Regions from separate parts of the Homo sapiens genome. Here all the other regions are linked to region 1. The links are contacts of gene promoters, found by promoter capture Hi-C in human tissues and cell types (Jung and others, 2019). All regions are on one chromosome and are shown on one strand. The core of a region is centred on a gene start or on the middle of the fragment in contact, and the rest is flanking DNA. Distances in the headings are between cores, read along the strand shown. Region 1 holds the start of CACNB1 (calcium voltage-gated channel auxiliary subunit beta 1). Region 2 overlaps LOC105371767 (a long non-coding RNA gene). Region 3 holds the start of LINC02079 (long intergenic non-protein coding RNA 2079). Region 4 overlaps FBXL20 (F-box and leucine rich repeat protein 20).

Region 1 (2,677 bases), core at 84-2,583:
TGCTCAGGGTTGGAACTCTCCTGGAACGTTTCTAATGGGCTTCATCTTCACTCACTGCTCCGCCTTCCCCAAGGTGTTGTGATCAGAGGAATGACAGACTGACCATTCACTTGCTATTAGAGTTGGGTGAGGAGGAGGAGTCCCATAGTCTCCTGTCCTGCGGAACACAGCAAGGTGGTGGCCTTATTGTAAGGTCACTTGACCTGGAGAGGGTCTTCTCCATCTCTCCTTTCTGTGGAGCAGGAGAAGGGGTGGAGTAGGAAGGGAATGGGTCCTCCTGTCATGAGTGACCCCTTCATTGAAACTTACAGCTTCTCCAAACACCCCAGCAATTCATTTAATTCTCCCTCATCCTCCCAATAATACCAGGTGACACAGACTCCACAGTACCAGCAACCCCATTTTATAGGAGAGGAGGAAACTGATGCTCAGAGAGGTGATTTGTCCGGGGCTATACAACCAGAAACAGCCTGAGCCAAATTGGCGCCAGAGTCTATTGCCCAGAATCTCCTATTCCTCTTCTCTCCACCAGTCATGGTGGGTGGCATCCAGATCTTGGATGTTTCTCCCTAAATCAGGGGTAAAGGTGGCGCAATTCTAGGTCAAAGGTCATGAGATCTGATTTTACCAGCTTCTCCTCTCTCAGCTCCATATTTCTTCCTCTTTTCTCATCCAAGAGCAGGGACCTCACCCAGCCCCATTCCTGGCCTTTTGGAAGAACAGGGGTTGGGGGGGCGGTGTATCCTAGTGACTGATTAGGGCAGAACTCCTGGACCCCTGGGATTTATTTTGCTGTCTCTATTGGACACCCTCCCCATCTCAGCCTCAGCCTCCCACCGGCAGCCCCAGAGCCATGTTGGAGGGAGAGGCTTTTCTGTTTGGTTTGAGGCAGCCTGGGCCCCACACTGGGGAGAAAGGAGTTAAAGCCAGGTCCCAGGATCACCGGGACCGGGAAGTTCCGGTGGTCCAAACAGGAGTGGGTTGGGGGGACCCGCAGGAAGAGAGGTTTGGGACAAAAGGGGGGTGGTGCCAGCCATGCCAATCCCCATCAGCGCTCGGCATCCACTGGTAGACCGCCCCCCCACCCCTCCCCCAAGTTCCACGCCTAGTTTCTGCCTTCCCGCCCCAGCGGGCCGCCTGCACCCCACGGCCAGTCAGAGGCCCACCTGCGGCCACCTAGAGCCGAGAGGGGCTTGCCTCCCTGCTGCCGCACGCCCATTGTGTGCGCCGAGCCGGCGGAGGGGCTGCGAGGGGCGGGGCCGGGCGGGCGGAGGGAGGGAGCGAGGGAGGGGCGCGGGGAGATGCTGAGCCTACGGGGGAGGCGGCGGCGGCAGTGGAGAGAGCGGGAGGAGCGAGGGAAGGCAGGAAGGAGGCAGCCGAAGGCCGAGCTGGGTGGCTGGACCGGGTGCTGGCTGCGCCGCGCTGCTTTCGGCTCCCACGGCCTCTCCCATGCGCTGAGGGAGCCCGGCTGGGCCGGGCCGGCGGCGGGAGGGGAGGCTCCTCTCCATGGTCCAGAAGACCAGCATGTCCCGGGGCCCTTACCCACCCTCCCAGGAGATCCCCATGGAGGTCTTCGACCCCAGCCCGCAGGTGAGGCGTGGTGGCCCGGCCCAACGGGAGGGGGTCGCTCCCGCGGACCGTGTTAAGGTCGGCTCGAGAGGCGCGGGAGAGGAAGGGGTTATATGCCGGGCGCGGAGGAGAGAGGGATGCCTGCGCGCCCCCCATCCTTGCAGGTTGTGATTGATGGGCGCTGGGCCTGGGGCTGGGTGGCGATGCTGCGGAGCGGGGAGGGGGCGGGTGGGCTGCCTGTCACCCTCGCCTCCTTATCTCCCCCGCGTCAAGGTTCCTGCCGCTTGGGCACCAGCTTCAGTGGGCTGAGCGTGGGGGTGCTGGTGGAGGGGGATCTGGGCCTTGAGAAGGGGAGGTTGAAAGAGGCTAGAAAGCGAGCCAGGCAAGGGGGGCGACGCAGAGCACGCTCGGGGGCGCCAGGCGGGTGTGGGTGGGGCGGGGGTGGCACGAGGAGGTGGCCGAGGCGATGGTCAGAGGGCGGTGCCAAATGCCAACAGGCCTTCAAAGCCGCAGACACTGGTTCTCGAGGGTGGGGAAAGAGCCAACCCCGGTCGAGGTCCCCTCCCAGCCACCTGGGCTCCATCTCTATGTCGGACCTGCTCCCCTCCCCCCACACCCACGTTGACTTACCCCACCCCCACCCCCGCCCCAAAAACGCCTCCAAAGTTTGGAAAGTTGGATGGATGCCAACTCATAGGAGGGGGGGAAGCTGTTTTACCTGGGGGAGGGGTCTACTTCTCCATCCCCACCCGCACACTTTTCCTACACCCCTGGTTACTCCCAGGAAGTGGCATTCTTGGGCGCGGTGGGTTCTCATGGGGTGACCAGCAGGCTCTGGGATGGTCGCGCCAGGGGATTTCTTTGGGAGTGTCCTTCTCCAAGGATAGCATTAACTCTTCTGTTACTGTGGCCACCAGCTGTAACCACCATGATAATGTGACTGATGGGTATGTAGAGGGGTCAAGTCAGACCTAAAAATACCTTCCTCCACCCCAGGCCCCTTTGAGCCTGGGAGGCAGCTGACTGGGGCCTTCCTTTCAGCTGTCCCCTGTCCCTCTGAGTGCCACTCCCTTTGCCCAGCCTGGCAGTGGTGGGGGAGGGTGGTGTC
Region 2 (2,677 bases), core at 66-2,565, 190 kb after region 1:
ACTTTGCACTGCAGTTCCAGGCTTGAGGACGGGGCCCTCACCAGGGACCTGCCCTCTTCTGCCCAGAATTTCCCTGCCTCCTATCCTATCAGAGATAATTAATGGGTACAAAAAAATAGTTAAAGAATGAATAAGATCTTTATTTGATAGCACAACAGGATGACTTATAGTCAATAATAATTTAACTGTACATTTTAAAATAATTAAAGAAGGCTGGGCATGGTGGCTCACGCCTGTAATCCCAGCACTTTGGGAGGCCAAGGCAGGAGGATTGCTTGAACGTGGGAGTTCAAGACCAGCCTGGGCGTCATGGTGAAACCTCAACTGTACAAAAAATACAAAAATTAGCCAGACATGGTGACAGGCGCCTGTGGTCCTAGATACTCTGGAGGCTGAGGTAAGAGGATTGCTTGAGCAAGGTCAAGGCTGCAGAGATCTGTGATCACATCGCTGCCCTCTAGCCTGGGTGACAGAGAAAGATCCTGTCTCAAAAAAAAAAAAATAAAATAACTAAAAGAGTGTATCTGGGTTATTTGTAACACAAAGAATAAATGCTTGAGGTGATGGATACCCCACTTACCCTAATGTGATTATTACACATTATATACCTGTATCAAAATATCTCATGTACCCGATATATACACCTACTGTATATATGTACCCAGAAAATTACCCACAAAATTTAAAAATGTACCCACAAAAATTAAAAATTAAAAAAGATACATTAAAACTGTACATATTAGGATAGAAAGTGTCCATAATAATTTTTTTTTTTTTGAGATGGAGTCTCACTCTTTCGCCCAGGCTGGAGTGCAGTGGCGCTATCTCGGCTTACTGCAAACTCCGCCTCCCAGGTTCATGCCATTCTCCTGCCTCAGCCTCCCAAGTAGCTGGGACTACAGACGCCCGCCACCACGCCCAGCTAATTTTTTTGTATTTTTAGTAGAGACAGGGTTTCACCGTGTTAACCAGGATGGTCTCGGTCTCCTGACCTTGTGATCCACCTGCCTTGGCCTCCCAAAGTGCTGGTATTACAGGTGCGAGCCACTGCACCTGGCCAATAAATTTTTTTTTTATAATTATCACCCATTATCAGAAAAATAAAATATACCTATATAATTTCATAAAGAAATTAAGTGTCTTGCCCAAGGCCATCTAGCCAGCTAGCTGTACAGCCAGGACTTGAACCCTGGGCCTATGGTGACTCCAAGTTCACCCTTTACACCATGAGAACCAATAAAGGTAAAGAGACTTTGGAGGACATAAGAGGCAAACTCTCATTCATGTCAGGTCTTCTTTTTGCAATATCCTTGGAAGGTGGCCAGCCAGCATCTGCTTGAATACTTCCAACAACAGGGAGCTCATTACCTTCCTGGCAGCATGCTCCACTGTTGGCAGCTGGTTATTAGAATTTTCCTCCATCAAATGAGGAGAAATCTGTGCATCCTAATATCTGATCTTGAGTTCTGGATCCTCACAGAGGAGGTGACCCCCTTCAGCCAGACCAAAACTGGGCTGGCTTGCACTGGTCCCTAAGGAGAGACTTCAGGAGTGGGTCCAGTGGGTTCCACACTGCTTCATGGGGAAGGGAACACGAATCCATCCTATATCTCACTCCTCGCACCTCCACTGACCAGCACTTCCTGCAGACTTGCCCAGGTAAAGCTTGTCTGCTGTATGTGCACTGCTTCCATGATGGGGCTTTGGGGCCTCAGCTGCAGAAATGCCTGAATTTCCATTCATGGTAGGGCCTCCCACCCTTGAAAGAATAATTATCTGCCTGCTGAGCTGATAGGTTCCCATCTGGTGAGGGCTGAATGCCGTAGTTTTAGAAAAGACACCAGAAAAGGCAAGCTCCTGAACTGGCTTTGACAGATTCCCCCAGCTACTCTAAGGGAAAAAAAAAAAATGACTGAGGTGGGTGTCGGGTAGAGGGTTGGGGAGAAGGCCTAGAAAGGAAAAGAAAATGAATATGGGATGCTAATGAATTCCTGTGATCTCACTGTCTCCTATTCCAGCACATGCTCCTCTGCAGAAAGTGATGGGGCTGCCTTGCCAGCTGGAGCCTGAAACTGTGCCCAGGTAGACAGAACTGCGAGTCCCAGGACAGCCTGGGAAGTGTTGGCTGCCTGGTAATGGAAGAATGTCCAGGATGGAAAACAAGAGGCTGGATCTGCAAATGACATTGTATTTCAGGGGTCTGCTTTCCTGGTCTGCCCCTCCCCACCTCTGTAGCTCCCTCACAGTGACAGCAGAGCTGTGAACCCAGGAACAAACCCCACCATTGCCCCTGTCCTCTCTCATCTCTACTTTCCACATTGAAAAATAATAAAAGAGGCCAGGCATGGTGGCTCAAAACAGCTATAATACCAGCACTAGGATGCCAAGATGAGAGAATGGCTTGAGGCCAGGAGTTCAAGACCTGCCTGAGCAACATAGAGAGACCCACCCCCCAGTCTCTGCAAAAGCTAAAAATTAGCTGAGCATGGTGGGATGCACTTGAAGTCCCAGCTACTTGGAGGCTAAGTCAGGAGGATCACTTGAGCCCAGAAGGTTGAGGCTGTAATGAACCATGATTGTGCCACTGCATTCCAGCCTGGGTGACAGAGTGATATCCTGTCTCTAAAAAATAAATAAGGTAATAATAATAAAATAAATGCCCTCCAGGAGTTTCAGT
Region 3 (2,677 bases), core at 64-2,563, 170 kb after region 1:
GTGGAAGCTGCTCTGGGGCTTCTTCCTGGAATGAAGAGGACTAGATCTCTTCAAGGGTCTCTGGATTTTGAGTTTCAGGCTCTACATGGAATTGAGAAAGTCCAACTCTCTCAGGGGGCCCTGGAGGCTCATCTGAGTTCATCTGGAGTTCTGGAGGCAGGCTGCTGCGATACACTGTATCCATACTTGAATCTAAATACTCATCCTGCAAAGTTTGTTTCTGACACTGAGGTTTTGATACAAATAGGTGTGGAGTTCCACACAACAACCTTAGCAAGCTTCAGATACTTAGCTAGATCTTTGTTCAGGTTCTTGGGCGAAACAGTAAACTTGGTTGCTTTTGAATTCTATCTTATTTATTTTATTTTGTTTTTTAATTTATTTTATATTTATTTATTTATTTTTTTTTTTTTGAGATGGAATCTCGCTTTGTCACCCAGGCTGGAGTGCAGTGGCACGATCTCGGCTCACTGCAACCTCCACCTCCCGGGTTCAAGCGATTCTCCTGCCTCAGCCTCCCGAGTAACTGCAGGCGCGTGCCACCAAGTCCTGCTAATTTTTTGTATTTTTAGTAGAGACGGAGTTTCACCGTGTTATCCAGGATGGTCTCTTATCTCCTGACCTCGTGATCCGCCCGCCTCAGCCTCCCAAAGTACTGGGATTATGTGAGCCACCGCGCCCGGCCTGAATTCTGACTATCTAGAGGTGGAACAAGTAAAGTATTTAATTTGCCTGATGATCTGCAGCCTGATCTAGATCTGCAGTATGAACCTTACTTTTGAGGCGAGGAGGCCGAGCAAAGGTCTGTTTCTGATCCCAGTCCAGCACTGAGACCCCCTCTGGGAGCCTTTCTTGCCAAGTCAGCTTGTCATTCAGGTCCTGGTGTGCAGCCGCTAACTGCTCTGGCCCCGGGGCCAGCTCTCCAGCTGAATCTGTGTCCAGGAATGGAACCAAAGTCTCGGTCAAAGTCTCAGTCGATTCCTGAGGCGGAGCTGACATCTGGGAGGAAGCAGAGGACCCCAGGTAATCAAAGTCCCCGGGGTCTGCCGGTGGGGGCGGGGGTCGGGGGTAAGCGCAAAGGGAGATTCGGGTGGGAGACTGGGGGAGCAGGAAAACCAGGGCTCAGTCGGCCCCAGAGGGTCGGAAGTCGGCTGGAGCCGGTCCTGGACCCACTCCAGAGGCTGAGCCTCCTGGACTAGTAGCCACAGTAGTTGCCAACCTGAGGAGGTGCCGTGGGACCCAGAGGCGCAGCTGGGACATGACAGGCGCTGGCGCCGCGCCCTGAGCCGGAGCCATTCTGGCAGCCCCGAGACGCTTGCGCCCCTGACAACCGCGCGCCCCGCCCCGTCCTTTATGACACCTGTATTTACACCGCCTTTATTAGGCTCGGGTCCAGATCCGCTCCGCGATCTTATCCCACAATCCCATCCAAACCCCACTTCCTGTCCCACCCCACCTCCGAACACCCCTCCCCTCCCCTTAGCGAGGAAAGATTTGGGATCCTGTTTGAAGGGAATTCTAAAAGGTCTGTGTTCAAGCAGCCCAGCACCCTTTACTCCTGGGTGGTGGGGGGAGACTAACCCCTTTCCTGTGTCCACAACTGTAGTAATACTCTAACCGTCCTCAGTTCTGCTCTCCAAACTTCAAATAAGGGGTCAGAGACATGGGTCAAGACTTCAGGAAAAGCCCCAGAAATACCCTGCACTCAAAAGCAGTTTCAGAGTTTCACATTTTCCTGAGAATGAAACAAATTATCCTCCAAATTCTGCTGCTTGTTTTGAATTATGTTTACGCTGGTTATGTTACCAGTGAGTTTTTATCTCCACATACTTGAATTAAACCGTGTAGTTCTTCTTTACATCTGACACCTACAATCTCTTCACTGGGTCTGTACTTCACAGCTATTTTACCACTTTCTGAAATAAAGTTAGCAAGGATCAATTCAGAATCTTTTTCGTTCTAAAACTTCCTGCACAGGCCGGGCGCGGTGGCTCATGCCTATAATCCCAGCACTTTGGGTGGCCGAGGCAGGCAGATCACCTGAGGTCGGGAGTTCGAGACTAGCCTGACCAACATGGAGAAACCCCGTCTCTACTAAAAATGCAAAAAATTAGCCGGGTGTGGTGGTGTGTGCCTGTAATTCCAGCTACTGGGGAGGCTGAGGTAGGAGAATCGCTTGATCCTGGGAGGCTGAGGTTGCAGTGAGCCGAGATCGCACCATTGCACTCCAGCCTGGGCAACAAGAGTGAAACTCCATCTAAAAAAAAAAAATCCTGCGTATAATGGTAGTACCCCATGATGAGACATTCTTTTTTTTTTTTTTTTTTGAGACAGAGTCTCGCTCTGTCACCCAAGGCTGGAGTGCAGTGGCGCGGGCTAGGCTCACTGCAACCTTCTAATGTGAAGTGTCTACTAGCCCAGTGGTCTCTATTCCATCTTTGAACTTACTTTGATTCCCACCTGATGCCTTACCATTTCATCTTTTGGTTTCTAAAAGCAGAAAATAAGAGCATTTTTCTGAAAGTTTCCTCATCTCCTCATCTCACACTTGTTTTCCTTCCTTCCTTCCTTCCTTCCTTCCTTCCTTCCTTCCTTCCTTCCCTTCCTTCCTTCCTTCTTTTTATAGGGGCTCACTCTGTTACCCAGGCTAGAGTTCAGTGGCACTATCATAGCTCAC
Region 4 (2,677 bases), core at 110-2,609, 170 kb before region 1:
GCCTGTAATCCCAGCTACTTGGGAGGCTGAGGCAGGAGAATCACTTGAATCTGGGAGTTGGAGGTTGCAGTGAGCCGAGATTGCGCCACTGCACTCCAGCCTAGGCAACAGAGTGAGACTCTATCTCCAAAAAAAAAAAAAAGAAAAGAAAAAGATAAACCAGGAGGTCCAATGTTTGACTAATAGGAATTCTACAATGAGAGGACAGAGAAACCAGAAAAACTTCCAAAATATTTACCAGATTGAAAAATATAAACTTCTAGATTGAAAGGACTGATAGGCTGGGCGCGGTGGCTTATGCCTACAATCCCAGCACTTTTGGAGGCTGAGGCAGGCAGATCTTGAGGTCAGGAGATCGAGACCATCCTGGCTAACACGCCGAAACCCCGTCTCTACTAAAAAATACAAAAAATTAGCTGGGCGTGGTGGTGGGTGCCTGTAGTCCCAGCTACTTGGGAGGCTGAGGCAGCAGAATAGCGTGAACCCAGGGGCAGAGCTTGCAGTGAGTCGAGATTGTGCCACTGCACTCCAGCCTGGCTGACAGAGCGAGGCTCCATCTCAGGAAAAAAAAAAAAAAAAGGACTGATAGAATAATAACCTCAGACCAAGAGGCTTGATGATGAAATTTTGGTAAACTGAGGATAAAGAGAATATACTAAAAGCTTCCAAAAGTAACTAGAGGTTACATTCAAAGGACCCCAAATTAGAATGGCATTATATATCACAGCAGAAACTTACGAGGTCAGAAATGCATCAAGCAGTGTCTTCAGATATCTTCAGTGGAAAGGATTTTCATCTTATAATTTTATTGCAAGCCAAATTATCAATCAGATGTGAGTCTAAGGTAAATACATATTTTAGACATGCAAGAGACTTAAAAACCTGAGTTCCCATGAGCTGTTTTTTCATAAATTACTGTGAGATGTTCCCTTAAAAAGCAAGTGAGACAATATGGGGTACTGGAAACAATGCAATAAAAGAGAAGAGCTACTGGAGAGCCCAAGATGACAGTTGTGTAGCCAGTCTAGGGAATTTCTTAGAGTGTAGGAAAAGAAAGTGTTCTGGGAATGTTTAGCACCAGAGAAAAACAGTATCTGATGCATTTGAGCATATGGAAAATATTCAGATGTGACAGATTTTGGAGCAGTTGAGGGAAAAGAGTCTAGAAAGTAGAAAAAAATATGATAGCCTATATGTAGGGTGAGAAAGAGTCCATAGTCCTATTGTCTGCTTGTCCTGACACTGAGTAGTATCTAAATACTAAATATTCACACGGACGCTTAATTTAAACAAAGATTGTGAGAAAATTACACTGAATACAGCCAGAAGCAGTGGCATGTACTGTAATTTCAGCTACCTTAGAGACTGAGGCTGGAGGATTGCTTGAGGGTGTACTATGATCGCTCCTGTGAATAGCCAGTCTACTTCAGACATAGCGAGACCCCATCTCTAAAAAAAAAAAAATTTTTTTAAATTCCGTTGTTGTCTTTTAGTATCCACCTCTTAGTTCTTTCCTGTGTTACAGATGAAGTGAAACTAAGGGAAATGGAGGAAGGAGGAGGAGAGGTGGACATGAAATAATATTGTCACTTTGAATTTTAGTTTCTTTCCTTTCACTTCATAACTTCAAAAGAAGTTTTCAGTAGGGCATGGAACATTTCCAGGATTAAGCAGCACCAGTTCAACATGAGATTCAGTCATATTCAGTTCTTCAGAGTTCATGGAATCCTCCAGGTCCTAGACTGTTGCTGAGGATGGTTAATGTCAAATAAATTAAAAATACTGAAAAGAAAAAAATAAAAGTGTGTAGATGCTCTATTTTTGGACTGAGAGCAGTGAATTGGTAGTGGACATAGGTTTGGGTTAAGTAAATGAAACAGAAGTCAGCATAAAAGAAAGCTCAGAATATTGAGTCAGATGTTAGAAGGTGTCCAAAGCAGAAAGTTTGACCTATTAAGTAATGTGTCTGTTAGCTAAATGTATTCCTTCCGTAATGTTTTTATCTAGTGATTTCTTTCTTAGGAGAAGTTTAGTCATGAGACGGCAATGCACTGGCAGTAGTTAGCTTCTAAAAAGCAATTTTATTTCTGCTAGGGACAAGATGTTGGGCGGAGGAATTATAAACTTACTTTGTTTTAGGTTTATCTGGCCAAACAAAAATGTTTTTCCTTTTAGATTCGGGCAAGAAAACTGGCCAACTGGAAAAAACATCTGGTGTTGGTTGAATGAAGGAATGGCATAATCAGTAAAAATTACTTATAGGAAAAATACACATTTAAAAAATCTTCTGCAGCTTCAACTCTGGATTTTTTTTAATGAAAATTGATTCTTAATCTCTCATTAACATTTTCCTACCACCAAAAGATTTGACCTGTATTGGGCTACCTTTGTATGTTAGAAATTTTGCTTAATCTATGAAATTTCTTTTTTTAAATTTCTTAATCTATGAAATTTAGATCGTGAGTCATAAACTTCTTCAATAGAGAACCTGTTTTTGTAGTATTTGCTATTTAACAACCACCCTGTAACTTTGTGGCTTAAAACAATTCATTATGCAGCCTGACGGTCCTGCCATCTCCCCAATAGGTCGCTCATAAGACTGCAGTCATTTGGTGACTTGAGTGGGGCTTACGTGTCTAAGATGGCCTCACTTATACTCTGAGACCTTTTGGTGTTG

The links. The method cuts DNA at HindIII sites, captures the fragments that hold promoters and counts their contacts. A contact is called where the count stands out against the background at its distance.
Region 2: a contact is called between a fragment that was not itself captured here and the fragment with the promoter of CACNB1 in region 1, in 1 of the 25 tissues and cell types used here (dorsolateral prefrontal cortex).
Region 3: a contact is called between a fragment that was not itself captured here and the fragment with the promoter of CACNB1 in region 1, in 1 of the 25 tissues and cell types used here (aorta).
Region 4: a fragment that was not itself captured here is called in contact with the fragment with the promoter of CACNB1 in region 1 in 4 of the 25 tissues and cell types used here (adrenal gland, mesendoderm cells, spleen and 1 more).

What each region holds. Positions count from the first base shown.
Region 1 is chr17:39,196,325-39,199,001 of GRCh38, reverse strand. It overlaps CACNB1 (calcium voltage-gated channel auxiliary subunit beta 1), which reads left to right and starts at 1,333. Exons shown (of 14, transcript NM_000723.5): 1 at 1,333-1,590. The coding sequence starts at 1,507. RefSeq lists silencers at 1,036-1,165, 1,176-1,575, 2,006-2,135. The HindIII fragment of the contact is 14,403 bases long and covers 1-2,677 here.
Region 2 is chr17:39,009,044-39,011,720 of GRCh38, reverse strand. It overlaps LOC105371767 (a long non-coding RNA gene), which reads left to right. Exons shown (of 3, transcript NR_188621.1): 3 at 2,019-2,675. Among named protein-coding and RNA genes, the nearest start is that of LINC02079, 17 kb to the left of the region's middle. The HindIII fragment of the contact is 4,299 bases long and covers 1-2,677 here.
Region 3 is chr17:39,025,896-39,028,572 of GRCh38, reverse strand. It overlaps LINC02079 (long intergenic non-protein coding RNA 2079), which reads left to right and starts at 1,463. Exons shown (of 2, transcript NR_135645.1): 1 at 1,463-1,525; 2 at 1,628-1,858. It overlaps LOC105371767 (a long non-coding RNA gene), which reads left to right and starts at 876. Exons shown (of 3, transcript NR_188621.1): 1 at 876-1,023. The HindIII fragment of the contact is 3,115 bases long and covers 1-2,677 here.
Region 4 is chr17:39,364,785-39,367,461 of GRCh38, reverse strand. All of the region lies in intron 1 of FBXL20 (F-box and leucine rich repeat protein 20), which reads left to right. Among named protein-coding and RNA genes, the nearest start is that of FBXL20, 36 kb to the left of the region's middle. The HindIII fragment of the contact is 6,030 bases long and covers 1-2,677 here.